Regions from separate parts of the Homo sapiens genome. Here region 2 is linked to region 1. The links are contacts of gene promoters, found by promoter capture Hi-C in human tissues and cell types (Jung and others, 2019). All regions are on one chromosome and are shown on one strand. Each heading gives the region's core, a stretch centred on a gene start or on the middle of the fragment in contact. The rest is flanking DNA. Distances are from core to core; before and after follow the strand shown.

Region 1 (2,700 bases), core at 69-2,568:
GCACTTTAAAAGATCAGGAGGGCTGGGCGAGGTCGTTTAGGCCTATAATCCCAGCACTGTAATCCCAGCACTTTGAGAGGCCGAGGCGGGTGAATCACCTGAAGGCAGGAGTTCAAGACCAGCCTGCCCAACATGGTGAAACCCCGTCTCTACTAAAAATACAAAAAAAAAATTAGCCAGGAATGGTGGCGGGCGCCTGTAATCTCAGCTACTCAGGAGGCTGAAGCAGGAGAATCGCTTGAACCCGGGAGGCGGAGGTTGCAGTGACCCAAGATTGCGCCATTGCACTCCACCCTGGGCGACAGAGCAAGACTCCGTCTCCAAAAAAAAAAGTCAGGGACGGCCTCCTCTCTTTTAGATGCCGTCCCTAAAGACATGCACACAATTTATACCTAATTGGCTAAAACGTAGTCACATAGCCACATTTGGCTGCAAGAGAGACTATAAAATAAGCTATTTTAAGCTGGGAAGCAGTGTGTCCATCGACACAGTGTTCTGTGACTTTAAATAAAAAATTGGTTTTCTGTCATGAAGTAGAGACTAGGTTTGGTGAGGCACTCATTCATCCTTTCTCACCTCCAACAATAATTTGCGTTTACTTATTTTTTCAACCCCTTCCCATCCCCTCAAACATAGTTCTCTACCTTTTATCTCAAAAGATAACCAAAGAAACCTCTTGATTCTGGTCATACTCTTCCTTTCACTGTGACAATAACAACAACAACAACAACAACAAAACCTTATTCTTCTCCTTTACAATTTCTTTAACGTTTTTTTCTTTTCTGCTATTCCCAATCCCTAAACACCATCTCACGTTTAGATTATACAGCTTTCCACTTCGTCTCCCAGTTCCTGCGAGCACCTTATATCCCTTTTACCCCAACCAAGTCCTTAAATTTTATTTATAGTTAGCGTCACAATACACGAGTAAATATTGTCTTTCTTTAAAAAGCACAAATATCTCAAACTTCTCCCTTGGACATACCAATGGCTACATTAAGCTCTTTAGAACGTAGAAATGAAAGAACGCCTCCCGGGTTCAAACGATTCTACTAAACAAATGAAAGAACGAATGGCATGTAAGTGCGTTTTTACAATTCATGTGAACGGGTACGCTAAGACCCTCTGTCACTGCGGGCTTCGCCGCCCCGATGAAGGTCTTTCCCAGCAAAAATCTGGCTTGCCTTCTACAGCTCTGAAATGCACACTTAAACCCAGGCCCTTTGTCTCTGACCGCCCTGGCCTGAACTGGCTGGGCGGAGATTCTCGCGAATTCTCGGATCTGCGCGGAAAACGCGCTCGAGGCAGTTCTCTGACGCATTTCCGGAGCGCCAGGGAAGAGGGAAGTCGTGGTGGTCGCGAGGGAGCCGGAAAGATGGTGGTTACCAGATCTGCACGGGCTAAGGCCAGCATCCAAGCCGCGTCGGCTGAAAGTTCCGGGCAAAAGGTAGGAAATCCAGTCTTCCCTACTTCTCGCCGCTTCGCAGAGCCGCGCTCAGGCAGGCGGGGCGGCGCAAGGGTCCGGTTAAGGGTGAGGACCTGCCGACAGAGAGGACCCGAGCTTGCCGCGCGCTTGGGTCTCCCAGGCCCCGTGCTAAGCCTGTCACGGAAACTGTTTAGCCTTCACCACTGTCTCTTAAGGCAATTTTTAGTATGGAAGAGAGGTTAGATAACTTTATTTGGGTCGTTCAACTCCTTAATGCAGAAGCACAGTTCGAACTTTTAAACCTTACTGTTAACACGGTACCAAGGAGGGTTAATTTCGGCCACCATGCACAAGCCCCATTTAGGGGGGCTGGAAAAAAAGCTTCGTTTTCACGTGGGGAGGCTGGCAGCTGTCCAGCATCACCTCCTTAAGGCGTGAGGAGGGCTGTGGTGTCGTCGCCTGGTGACTCTTAGTGGCGTTAGTCGGCTGTCTCATTCTGACTCAGCGATGCAGGGAACGGAGCGGCGGCGATTTTTTCCTGTACGTAAAGGTAAGGGCGGCGACTGATTCCATCAGTGTGTTCCTAAACACATCGGTGTTCAGAGTTAATATTCCCTTTCTCCCCTCTTCTATAGGTGGGTCAGAATGTTGGTCTACCCATTATATTTGACTTTAAACAGAAAAATTTTAATCGTTCTGCTTCTGAAGTTACATCTAGGAAGGATGAGGCTAGTGAAGTAAATGCAGGGTTGGCTCCAGTGTTTAAATTTTGATTTTTTTGTTTGTTTGTTTTTGATTCGGAGTCTTGCTCTGTCGCCCAGGCTAGAGTGCAGTGGCGCAGCCTCGGCTCACTGCAACTTCTGCCTCCCGGATTCCAACAATTCTTCTGCCTCAGGCTCCTGAGTAGTTGGGATTACAGGTGCGCACCAACACGCCCCGCTAATTTTTTTACTTTGAGTAGAGATGGGGTTTCACTATGTTGGCCAAGCTGTCTCGAACTCCTGACCTCGTGATCCACCTGCCTCGGCCTCCCAGAGTGCTGGGATTACAGCCGTAAGCCACCGCGCCCGGCCAAATTTTGATTTTTTAAAAATCATGAGTTGGGCAGGTTTTTTTGTTTTTTGTTTTAAAGGTAATCTTGTTTACTGGGTTTTAGCTTTTGGGGTCAGTATTTCATTTGCTTTGCCCTTGTTCCAGCCCTACCTAAATTACAGTGTGTTTTCTCTGGTTTGCAGAGTTTTGCTGCTAATGGGATTCAAGCGCATCCAGAAAGT
Region 2 (2,700 bases), core at 103-2,602, 790 kb after region 1:
AGATCTAGTAAATGCAGAGAAATATGCTCAACTACACAGTGGGGATGCAACAGCAAAATACAGGTTAGGAAATGCACATGACAAATGACCTGGTTTCTCCCACAAATAAACTCCACAGAAAAAAAGAGGCAAGATCTAAGATAGAACCTGTAATTGAAAAAAAATCTTAAAACATATATTTTAAAACTAGTAAATTAAACTACAACCCTCAAAATGCACATCTGAATAATAAGACTACAAAGAAAAAATAATCACCACAGAAGTCAGGATGGAGATTATCTGGGGGATGAAAGGGTTGCAATGTGGGTTTCTGGGTTAGCTGGCAATGTTCTACTTTTGACCCTGGGGTGATTACAAAAGTTTTCACCTTATATAACCAAGATAGAAAATAAGAGAAAACAGATTAAGAAAATTAGAGGACCAATCAGAAATATCCAACATGTGAAAACAGAAAAAAAGTGGAGAAAAAATTATCAAAGTAAAAGAAAACATCCCAGTACTGAAAGAAGTAACCAGATTGAAAAGGCCACAAGTGTCCAGCAAACTGAACAAAAAAAACCTGTTCTAAGAAAATCAAGGACAAAGATACTACGTTTACAAAGAGATAAAAGGGCAACTAACAAGGGACTGAGAATAATAATCATTATAGCAATATTACAAGTCAGAAGACAGTGGAACTATTCACTTAAAAATCTGAGTGAAAAATAAATTCTGGGTGAAAATCAACCTTATAACCAGTCAAATTATCAATCAAGGGACTAAAAAGAGTAAGTAAAGCTGGGCTACAGTGGCACACTCCTGTAGTCCCAGCTACTCCAGAGGCTGAGGCAGGAGGATCGCTTGAGCCTAGTTCAGGGCTGTAGTGTACTATGATCATGCCTGTGAATAGCCACTACACTCCACCCTGGGCAACACAGAGAGACCCTATCTCTAAAATGTATTTTTTTAAAAAAAGAGTGTATGTGTATGAAAATTAGAACATTTTCAGCCATATAAAGTATTTAAAGATTTATCCCCCAAGCACACTTTATTTGAGCTTAATAAAACTAAACAGAGGGAGTAAACCAAATAAAAGGCAGGCACGGAATGCAAGGTATGTCACACAGAAGGGAAGAGAAAGGAATTCCCAGGATGGTGGTAAAGGAAAGCCCCAAGACAACTTCCATGCAGCAGGTCTAGAGAACCAGTCCAAATTAGAGCAGAACTCCAGAAGAACTCCAGGAGGATATCTCTAAGAAAAATAAATGGCACTGATAAATTAGATGACAGATTGACATTGTGGAAAAGTGCACTGTGAGACATTTTGTGGAACTGAAGATGTATGAAGATTTTAATGTTCAAAGAAAACTAGGCAAATTTTGTTTTTTAATGAGGCAATTTTTAAACATAGTTGTATAAGAAAAAAATGTAAATCTAGAAATAACAGCTAACAAGTATTTGACACTATTTTAAATTTTTTTTTTTTTTGAGACAGAGTCTCACTCTGTCGCCCACACTGGAGTGCAGTGGTGTGATCTCAGCTCACTGCAACCTCTGCCTCCCGGGTTCAAGCGATTCTCCTGCCTCAGCCTCCCAAGTAGCTGGGATTACAGGTATGTGCCACCACGCCTGGCTAATTTTTTGTATTTTTAGTAGAGACAGGATTTCACCGTGCAAACCAGGATGATCTCGATCTCCTAACCTCGTGATTTGCCCGCCTTGGCCTCCCAAAGTGCTGGGATTACAGGTGTGAGCCATCGCACCCGGCCTCTAAATTCTTTACAAGCATTAACTAACCCTCACCACTACTTTGTGGTACCATATTCTACGTGGTTCTTCATATGTAAACAATTTTTATATACTCACAAATGAAAACAGTTTAAAATGTTTTATATAACTATACTGAAAGAATGAGGAGAGAAGCAATGAATTTCTTTCTCATCTAACATGTTTATAGAGAAAGCTTTCTCTATAACATTATGTTTCATCTAACATTATGTTACAGAGAATATATTTATAGAGAAAGCTTACCCCCTTATTCCTCTCCTCATTCATTCTCATCTAACATTATAAAAAATATATAAAATTGATGAATCTAAATGCAGTGCTATTTTATTTAGAGATATAAAGAATTAGCTAAGGGTTAAAAGTTATTGCCTCTAAGGAGTGGGAAGGGGCGGAGGGAACAGAAAAGAAACTACATTGTTTTGGTAAAAAAGCCTTTTAATTTCAAAATTATCTGATTTTTAAACTTTTAGCAAGTAGCATGCCATTAAATATTCCAAATTTACTTTTTAAAAGATAGAAAATGATAAAAGCAGTGAAGACAAACCAAAAGCAGTGAAGACAAACCCTTGGTAACATCAACATCTATGGTAGTGTTTCAAAAGGATATTTTCTGAATACTAGTTCTAAAGAATGTTAATAGTTGGTATGTGAAAAAACTGTTTCAATAACCAATTAATATCCTCAGAGATATGAGAAAATATTACATCCATGAAATAATAAGGAGCTCTAAGAAATAAAATTATAGCCAAAATAAAAATTTCAAGAGAAGAAAAACCAAACATATATAATAAGAGAAAACAGATTAAGACAACCAAAGGCTCATCTAAGACATCCAGCACATGAAAACAGAAAAAAGGTGGGGAAAAAATTACCAAAGAAAAAGTAGAAGACGACATCCCAGTAACCAGGTAAACTGTGGGGCTTTTTCACAAA

The links. The method cuts DNA at HindIII sites, captures the fragments that hold promoters and counts their contacts. A contact is called where the count stands out against the background at its distance.
Region 2: a fragment that was not itself captured here is called in contact with the fragment with the promoter of DNTTIP2 in region 1 in 1 of the 25 tissues and cell types used here (stomach).

What each region holds. Positions count from the first base shown.
Region 1 is chr1:93,877,824-93,880,523 of GRCh38, reverse strand. DNTTIP2 (deoxynucleotidyltransferase terminal interacting protein 2) reads left to right here and starts at 1,318. Exons shown (of 7, transcript NM_014597.5): 1 at 1,318-1,447; 2 at 2,662-2,700. The coding sequence starts at 1,376. RefSeq lists enhancers at 496-1,311, 1,163-1,592. The HindIII fragment of the contact is 10,129 bases long and covers 1-2,700 here.
Region 2 is chr1:93,091,949-93,094,648 of GRCh38, reverse strand. All of the region lies in intron 1 of MTF2 (metal response element binding transcription factor 2), which reads right to left. Among named protein-coding and RNA genes, the nearest start is that of MTF2, 14 kb to the right of the region's middle. The HindIII fragment of the contact is 6,936 bases long and covers 1-2,700 here.